Regions from separate parts of the Homo sapiens genome. Here all the other regions are linked to region 3. Evidence: promoter capture Hi-C in human tissues and cell types (Jung and others, 2019). All regions are on one chromosome and are shown on one strand. The core of a region is centred on a gene start or on the middle of the fragment in contact, and the rest is flanking DNA. Distances in the headings are between cores, read along the strand shown. Region 1 has its middle 260 kb from the start of MIR4689. Region 2 has its middle 230 kb from the start of MIR4689. Region 3 holds the start of AJAP1 (adherens junctions associated protein 1).

What was found. The method cuts DNA at HindIII sites, captures the fragments that hold promoters and counts their contacts. A contact is called where the count stands out against the background at its distance.
Region 1: a contact is called between a fragment that was not itself captured here and the fragment with the promoter of AJAP1 in region 3, in 1 of the 25 tissues and cell types used here (dorsolateral prefrontal cortex).
Region 2: a fragment that was not itself captured here is called in contact with the fragment with the promoter of AJAP1 in region 3 in 1 of the 25 tissues and cell types used here (dorsolateral prefrontal cortex).

What each region holds. Positions count from the first base shown.
Region 1 is chr1:5,600,564-5,603,651 of GRCh38, forward strand. No RefSeq gene overlaps it. Among named protein-coding and RNA genes, the nearest start is that of MIR4689, 260 kb to the right of the region's middle. The HindIII fragment of the contact is 6,647 bases long and covers 1-3,088 here.
Region 2 is chr1:5,636,053-5,639,162 of GRCh38, forward strand. No RefSeq gene overlaps it. Among named protein-coding and RNA genes, the nearest start is that of MIR4689, 230 kb to the right of the region's middle. The HindIII fragment of the contact is 3,885 bases long and covers 1-3,110 here.
Region 3 is chr1:4,653,052-4,656,078 of GRCh38, forward strand. It overlaps AJAP1 (adherens junctions associated protein 1), which reads left to right and starts at 1,558. Exons shown (of 6, transcript NM_018836.4): 1 at 1,558-2,403. The coding sequence starts at 2,375. The HindIII fragment of the contact is 14,001 bases long and covers 1-3,027 here.

The sequences.
Region 1 (3,088 bases), core at 140-2,639, 950 kb after region 3:
CAGATTCCATTCTGGTCCAGGCTTTTCAGGGAGGGGGAGAGGAGTCACCTGCTCCATGTCATTCATCTTCCAGGATCCACCAACCGTGAGCCCCCATCTCTGGAAAGCAGTGGAGCGTGGGAATTGCTTTATCTAAACTCACCCGTCTGCTCAAAAGCATGGGCTGTGGGTGGGGGAGCCCCTGGTGCCCCCAACAGAAGAGGGGATGACAAACGAACCTCTCACGTATGTGGGTTCCTCTAAGCACTTAAGCAGGAAAGGATGCATGAGGTTTGCAGATGACAGATTATGCTGGCTGGCTTTCCAAAGCCAAGCTCCGGGCAATGTGGGTGACAGGACCAACTCCCTTCCCTGACAGGGCTGCATGTTACAATGGCACCAGGAGTCAAAGAGTCTTTTCTATTCATTCATTTATTCATTCATTCACTTATTCACTACCATCGCCCAGGTTTCATGCTGAGTCCTCTGGATACCACAGAATGAAAGTTCCTTGTCCTTGAGGGGGACCATACATTCATTCAGTTCATTCCCCATGTGTTAAGCCTGAACAATGGCCCCAAACTTTTTAAGCCCTACTTAAGAACACAACTCAGTCTCTACATCCAGAATAACTCCTGACTCCTAGCCATAATCCAAAGCAGAATGAGATTAGGGTCTTCAGAGACACACATGATGAGATTTCAGACCATGTAGCCCAGAACCCCTCAGAATTTGTTCAAGGATTCCAAAAATGATTCTACAAAATTTCACTGTAATTAAATTTAAACTATTTTTAGAGGTAATGAAAAATCAACACATTCCCAAAGGTGTTAAAGGAAAAGTTTCACACGTCACAGACCAGCAGGCTGTTTCCTGACTGACAGGCCACCTCCTTCCTAGGGCGAACCTGGAACCAAGGCTCTGGCACTCTTCCTGAGGATTCGGGATTGATTAAGTGTGTCGTGGATAAGGAGGGCTGAAGGTACACTCTGGCAGCACTCACACCCTGGGCTCCGTTAATGCTGGGCAAGGGTCAGGCTCAAGTGCATAAAGCTCATTCTCATTACAAGGGAGAAACCAGCAAGCATGGGGTGCGGAGACGCAGCATGGGGTGTGGAAGATGCAGATGTGGTGTGGAGACGCAGTATGGGGTGCAGGAACGCAGCATGGGGTGCAGGGATGCAGTATGCGGTGTAGAGACGCAGCATGGGGTGCGGGGATGCAGTATGGGGTGTGGAGACGCGGCACGGGATGTGGAGACGCAGCATGGGGTGTGGGAGACGCGGCATGGGGTGTGGGGACGCGGCATGGGGTGTGGGGACGCAGCATGGGGTGTGGGAGACGCGGCATGGGGTGTGGAGACGCGGCATGGGGTGTGGAGACGCGGCATGGGGTGTGGGAGACGCAGCAGGAGAAGCAGGAGATTCTGTCACTCTGGAATCAGTTTAAATGGTTACTTAAAACCTGAAGGATTCCTATCGAACTTTCATCTTAATCATAAGGAGCATAAATCTGTCTTCCAAGCCTTGGTACCAATTTAATTGGAAAGAATCTTGGGATTGCAAGGTGGACTTTTTAAAGATTGTTTTTCTTTGTAGCCACATTCTAGGAGAATCGAGACTTTCCTGGCATGTTTCAACTGAAAAAAGCTTTGGAAATAAGGGGGATGCTGAAATGTCTTTCATAATCCCGAATTTTAAAATGTCACGTGCATCAAAATAGCTTCATCGTTTTGCTGTGATAAGTAGATGCTATGCATCTGAACTATTAAGACTAAATTGGATGCCAATACAATACTGATTTAATCTCCCTTAATTACTTTTTCTTATGTTTGCTGTGAAAAACCTTCAAACATACAGCAGAGTACAGGGAAGAGTATAATGATCTCCCACATGCCCACAGTCCTGGGTTTAACCCCCTGTGTGTGTGCTCGCAGTGAGACCAGACTGCATGGATTATGTTCACCGACATATCCCCAGCAGTTTAAGTTCACAATGAGTACTTGCTTAATGAGTGAATGCACTTATTACCAATGTATGAGGGAAAGTTCCTGTATTGGTCTGTTCTCACACTGCAATGAAGAAATACCCAAGACTGGGTAATTTATAAAGAAAAGAGGTTTAACTGACTCACAGTTCTGCACGGCTAGGGAGGCCTCAGGAAACTTACAACCATGATGGAAGTCACCTCTTCACAGGGCGGCAGGAGAAAGAATGAGTGCCAGCAGGGGAAATGCCAGATGCTTATAAAACTATCAGATTCCATGAGAACTCACTCACTGTCACGAGAACAGCATGGGAGAAACCACCTCCATGATTCAATTACCTCCCACCGGGTCCCTCCCACAACATGTGGAGATAATGGGATTACAATTCAAGATGAGATTTGCGTGGGGACACAGGCAAACCATATCAGTGCTGTCATGGCCACAAATCAGGCTGGCAGGGTTCAGATCCTGCCTCTGCTGCTTCTTGGCTGTGTGACCCAGGGCAAGCTCCCTAACTTCTCTAATGGCTCCGTCCATTGATAATCTTTGCCTGAATCCATTATTCCAGTCAGGGCTTAAAAAAATGTATTTTCTAACAATACTTTCCCATTTATTAGCTAAGATTCTTCTCTTAAGCACTATCCCACATCAACCAGGGCTATATATTTCTGATCAGTAAAGAATAATTGGCTAATTCTTTCCCTTTAATTGTTTTTAACAGTAAGAATTTTGTGTTTCCAAGGGCTGTCAATGGATTATTCTTTTCCTCTCTCTCTCCCTCTCTCTCTCATATCTATCTCTTTCTCTTATCTCTCTCCCATCTTTCTCTCTCTCATCTCTATCTCTTTCTCTCTCATCTCTCTTCCATCTCTATATCTTTCTCTCTCTCATCTCTATCTCTTTCTCTCATCTCTCTCCCATCTCTATCTCTTTCTCGCTCTATCTCTTTCTCTCATCTCTCTCCCATCTTTCTCTCTCTCTTATCTCTATCTCTTTCTCTCTCTCATCTCTCTCCCATCTCTGTCTCTCTCATCTCTATCTCCTTCTCTCTCATCTCTCTCTCATCTCACTCGTCTCTATCTCTTTTTCTCTCTCATCTCTCTCCCATCTCTATCTCTCTCT
Region 2 (3,110 bases), core at 414-2,913, 980 kb after region 3:
AATTAGTGAATGAATTCACAGAACATTGGGACTAAAATGACCCCTGTGGATATTAAGTGGACATTGAGGCTGTCCCCCTACCCTCCACATCTCCCCTCCCCCGGACCCTTCACAAGAATTCCCAAGAACTTGATCTTCGCTATGTGGGAATCTCCAATCTCTGCAGGAGGGATTTGCTGCCTTCCTGTGACACTCACTCCATCCCGGGGACACTAAGCATTATAAAGCTATTCTTTATGCTAAGCCCAATCTAACGCATTCAGACTCAAAGCCACTGAAGTTCAGGGAAGACATAATTGTGTCGTTTGATTTGTTCACCAAAGAGCAGGTCAGATGGAAAGGTTACTGTCCTCTTAAAAATATTCTGACAACAAATTTTTTAAAATTTTAATGTTATCATTTTGCCTTTTTGGAGAAAGGGTTTCTATTTATCAGCGATGATTAAACACTTCTGAAATCTGGAATTACTGACTTTGACCTTTTCTTTATCGGCAGGTAATAAAACGAATGGGCAGATGACAGAAATGTAATTTGAGGATTACAAAATTTATGAGGAGGCAGCACATTGGGGAGGAAAGTGACTATGATTTGAGTGCTAGCAAGGGATGTGGAGAAAGGGAAGATTTAACCAAAATTGTTTCCTTGGACTCTCAGCTTTAGAAATGAAGATGTCAGTGTTTGTGCCCCATCCACTGCCCGGCGCAGTAAAGAAGAGCTCACTGGATGTTTGTGAATAAGGAAGGGGAGAGGGGAATGACCCCATTGTAGGGCAACAATGGAGAATAAATGAGATGATCCCCATAAAACATTGAGTTCAGACCCGACATGGATCCAGCATTCAGCAAATATTGGCTATTATTATTTTTATCACACCATCTCGTGAGTCTCATCATCTCATGAAATAGTGCATGAGAACAGGAATACTGTATGTAAACCATATGTGTGGTGCTGCTTCACATTCATCCTTTTGGTTCAAAACTGCAGATCCCTGATGCGAAGCTGGGCCCCTCTCTTATTCCTAATTTTGCATCCATCAGTGTTGTGGGTTACGTTGGGTCCCCCAAATGATGCGTTCAAGTCCTGACTCCTGGTAGCTGTGAATCTAATCTTATTAAGAAATAGGGCCCTGACAAATGTAATCAAATGAAGATGAGGTCACATTACAGTGGGGTGGGCCATAATCCAATGACTGTGGTCCTTATAAGAAAAGAAAAATTTGGACATAGGCGTAGAGACACGGAGGGGAGAAAGCCATGCAGAGAAAGCAGCAGAGATTGGAGAGATGTGGCCACAAGCCAAGGTATGCCAGGGGCTGCCAGCAGATGGCAGAAGTGGCAGAGGCAAGAAAGGATCTTCTCCTGGAGCAGCAGTCCTCAATCTTTTGGGCACTAGGGACTGGTTTTGAGAAAGACAGTTTTTCCACAGAGAGGTGAGGAGGGGTTGATTTTGAGATGATTCAAGCACATTACATTTATTGTGCACTTTATTTCTATTATTCTTACTTTCTAATACATAATGAAGTAATTCTATAACTCAGCATAGTGTACAATCAGTGGGAGCCTTGAGTTTGCTTTCCTGCAACTAGACAGTCCCATCTGGGGCTGATGGGAGACAGTGACAGATCATCAGGCATTACATTCTCATAAAGAGAGGTGTAACCTAGATCCCTCATATGCACACTTCACAGTAGGGTTCTTGCTCCTATAAGAATCTAATGCCACTGCTGATCTGACAGGAGGTAGAGCTCAGGCTGGTAATGTGAGCCATGGGGAGCAGCTGTAAATAAGATGAAACTTTGCTTGCTCACCCACTACTCCCCTCCTGCTGCGCAGCCCAGTTCCTAACAGCCCATGGACTGATGATACCTGTCCATGGCCTAGGGGTTGGGGACCGCTGCCCTAGAGCCTGCAGAAGCAGCACAGCTGTGCAGATACTCTGATTTTTGACTTCTGGCCTCCAGAACTGTGAGACAATAATTTCTGCTGTTTTAAGCCCCCCAGTTTATGGTTATTTGTTAGGACAGCCCTAAGAAATGAATACAACAGGTGCATTTGGCCCACAGGTATTGGTGTTTCCTATGTTCAGGTGCTCCGGTAAGCAGGACGCATACAGTCCCTGCCCTTGTGCTCATGTGTTGCCATGTGCCAGGCATACAGGGTCTCCCGATGGACACAAGAGACAAGGCCTCAGACATCACAGACCCCACAGCAGAGGGCAGGAAACCAGCACAAATACCCACGTGATTTGGGAAAAGTCCTGCCAGTAAGAAGCACAGCTGAGCTGTGATTGTGTCAGAGGCCGTGACTTAGAGGGGGATTCCATTAAGGAAACAGACCTGACTCTCAGCTGATGGAAGATGGGTGGGGCACATGGAGTTTATTCAGCTTGGTCAATAGGAAGATCTTGTGTTATGGGAAAGTCCATTTTTTTATTCCTTATAGTAAATTAGGGAAAGTAAGGCTCAACAAAGTCCCGTTAGCTTGTACAGAAACAAAAGATAGCGGGATTTTCCCCAGGGGCCTGGCACCAGGAGAGGGTCTCTCAGGAGGATGCTCCACACAGGTAATGAGGCGTTTATGTTTTCCAAAGCTGTAAACAACTTTGAGAAATACTGTTCACTTACGGCTGCAGTTGGAGCTGCATGGAAGGAGGCTGGCAACAGGGTGAGTGCTGTCCTTGTCCATTCTTAGAGAAACCAGGAGCCCTGAGAACCTGTGTCCAGCACAAAATGACTGACAGCTGGTCTCTCCAATCAGAAGATGGCTTCCCCACCCCCAGCACCTCCTGGGTCTCAGGGCGATTTCAGAGATGAACCTTTCTACCTTCTACCAGGTGGGTGGGTCAATGTGAAAGGGGCAACAGTTTTTAATTTGTAGGGTGAAGGTCAATATTAAAAACATGTTTTGCTGGCCATGCAAGGCTCTCCAAATATTATCTAACTTCGGGACCTGATCAGAGAAATGCCAGAAAGTCACCACTACTCTTGTGGAAAGCAGAAGAAGGAGGCTACCAGAGCGGGGACTATAGGAGCACTGACTTCGGGCCACCCTCTCCTGCAGCAGCTCTTCTGGAACACAAGCCTGGGAGCCTTGGCTGCACTGTCCTTGGTG
Region 3 (3,027 bases), core at 308-2,807:
AGGAGACCGAGGGTCGGAGAGGCCACACAACTCGGCCAGGACCCCGAGTTAGCAAGCGCTGGCCCCTGGTCCAGCCACGGCAAGGCTGGCCCTCCTGCCACCACACTTCCCTGCCTCTGGCCCTCTGCCGGGAGTCTTGGTGGGGAAGTCACTGTCTTCATCCTCCTGCCCGGGCAGAGTCCAATCCTGTGCCTGGCTCCTCAAGACCGTTGGCAAAGATCCTGGAGGCCTGGGGGTGAAAGGGCTGCTTGGGGGACTTAAGCCCCAAGCTATGGTTCGCCTGGGAGACTGAGCCCCAAGCCATGGTCCTCCTGGCTCTGCCCTTCCACCCCCTCACTGGCTGCCCCTCCCAGGGAGGCCTCACCTGTGAAGTGCTTCCCGCCCCTCTCACCCCCCACGGCTCTCACATGGCCTGGGGCGATTCCAGAGCTGGCCTGGGTCAAGCACCTGCACAGAGCACAGAGCGAAGGCTCGGCATGGTATATCCCCCGCCCCTTGCACCTTTCCCCAGTGAAGGGTGGCACCAGTGTCCTTTCCAAGGCCCGGATTCTGCACTGCCCTCAGCCTGTGGAGGATTAAAAGCAGGGTTTTGCCGTGGTTTCTCAAGGCGTCAGCGGGTCTGCAGAGGATTCCGCCCCATGTCACTTCTCTCAGTGAAAGGTCCCCGCCCAGCGTCTGTCCTCCTTTAAGTGCCCCCCATTTGTTTTTTGTTGTTGTTTTTGTTTGTTTTTTGCAAATACAGACTAACCAGGTAGGCACAGAGGAGTCCTGGCATGGGAAGGGAGCAGTGAAACGCCGGTGGAGAGTCCGGGAGGCCCAGATTCCCTGGAACTTTCCAGTGACTCCTCCGGAGCAAGGGCCTGGCCAGGCAGCAGCTGCGCTGGGCGATGAGGGACCGTTGGGTAATTGGGGGCATAGGACCGGGCTTCGCTGGGTTCGGGGCAGAAGCGCCGAAGCTCCGACCCGGAACGCGGTGACTTCATCAACGCAGAAGCCCGCGCAGCCGAGCAGAGGAGTCCCTCGTAGGCGACCCTCGGACAGACGCTCCTGCGCGGCCCGCGTGGCTCAGCTCCGCCCCAGGAAACTTTTCGCGCAGCCCCCGCTCCATGCGCCCCCACCCAGTCCTTCTTCGGGGCCGCCCCCTCCCCAAAGTAGCTCTCCGGGTCCACTGGGCGCCCCCGTAACCGGGTCGGAACCTCGAACGGCTTCGCGTGCCATCCGGTTACCCTGGCAACACCATCCGGCGGCGCCCGGCGGTCCAATCCTAGCCTGCGGCCTCTCTCGAGCCTTTCGCAAGGTGGGGACCGGGACGCGACCGGGGATGGGGAAGGGGGCTGCAGGAGGCCCCGCCTGCGCTGTCGCCCCTGCTGGGCACAGCGCCCCCCACCACCCGCGGCGACCCCGGCCCCCGCAAGGTGGGGCGGCGAGCAGGAGCCGGGGCCAGGCCAGGGGCTCGAGCTCCCGTTCGAGGGGCGGGGAAGGCGGGTGACGTGAGCCGGGCCGGGCGGGCGGAGTTGGGACCGGCTCCGGGAGGCGGGGGCGAGCGCGCGGAGAGGCAGACGCGAGGAGGGAGGCGGCTGAGCAGCGCGGGCGGCTCTGCGGCGGGCGCGGTGGGCGCGGGCGGCGGGGCCCCGGGATCCCCGCGCGCCTCCTCCGCGCGGCGCCGCCGCCGCGCGTCCCCACGCCCCGCGCTCCACGGCGCCCTCGCCCCGCGCGCCTCTCGTGCCCGCCTCCTGCCAGTCTCCGGGCCGCGGCCGTCTGCAGAGCGAGCGCTCAGACGGAGCCCCCGGGCAACTTGAGTGGCGCCGATCGGCGGCGGAGCCTCTGGCAGAGCCCCCCGACCCGGCAGCGCGGAGGGGACTCGCGTCCGTCCGCGTCGCGTCACCCCAAACCCTAAGCAGCGCCGCCCCATCGGCGCGGAGCTCCGGCTGGAGGCAAGAGCCGCGCGCCGGGAGACACGCACCGTGAGCGGCAGCGCCGCCGGCCTCCCTCCTCGCCGCCCCGGAGGGCGAAGCCGCGGCTCCCCAGCCCTTTGCTGCGCCGCGACAGCGCCGGAACACGCCCCGCCTCGCTGCCGCCTTCGCTGTGCCGCCGGCGGAGGGGGCCGCGAGCCCCGCGCCCCGGCCGGAGGATGTGCGCCCCCGCGGGCCGCCCAGCCTGAGCCATGCGCCCCAACGGCGGCGGCGCGCCGGCCGGCATGGAGCCCCGCGCGGCCGCGCTCTGACTCGCTGTGCGCCCCGCGGCCGGCGGGCGGCGGGAGGCGGCGGACCGAGAGCCGGAGACCGGCGCCGCGGGACGGAAGCGAGCGGGCGCGGGCGCCGCGCAGATGGCCTGGGCGAGCCAGGTCTGAGGCCCCGCTCCCCGAAACGTGACCATGTGGATTCAACAGCTTTTAGGACTCAGGTGAGCGACCCGGCCGGCGCCGGGTGCGTGTGGGCGCGTGGGTGCCAGGCTGGGCGGAAGCGGCGCTTTCCTCTATGTTGCAAATCAAGGGACCCCTCTTCGCTTCCCGCAAGCGGGCAACGGGGTGCACCGGTAGCCGGAAAGGGGCGCCCGCCCGGAGCCTGGAGCAGCACCGCGGCCCTGGCGGGGAGCGGCCGGGTCTCCAGGGTTCCGCGCGTCCGGGGTCGGGGCAGCGGCGCCCGCCCCAGCAACCCGGGAAGTGGGGCCGGCCAGGCGCGCCCGCAGCTCTAGGAGCCAGCAGCGCAGTGTCCTGGCCGGCTGCCCCGGCGCGCCTCCTCCCCGGGGCCCGGGGCGAGGCGCCGGCCGCTGGGCGCGGCGGGCGCGGGGGCCGGGGCTGCCGGGGAAAGCTAAAGCTCCGGGCTCCCAGCGAGAGCTTCGCAGGCGGAGTTGGAGGAAACCACAGCCAAACAGCCACTCCGCTCCCCCTTCTCCTTTCTCGGGGCCCCGGGGCTGAGCAGGGGCCTCCCAGGCTCCCAGCTGCCGACCCAGCTGTTTGCGGGTGACCTCCGGGCCCGACGGGCGCTCACAGCTGGCGGGCAGCTGGGGCGGGAGAGCTGGGGTTCT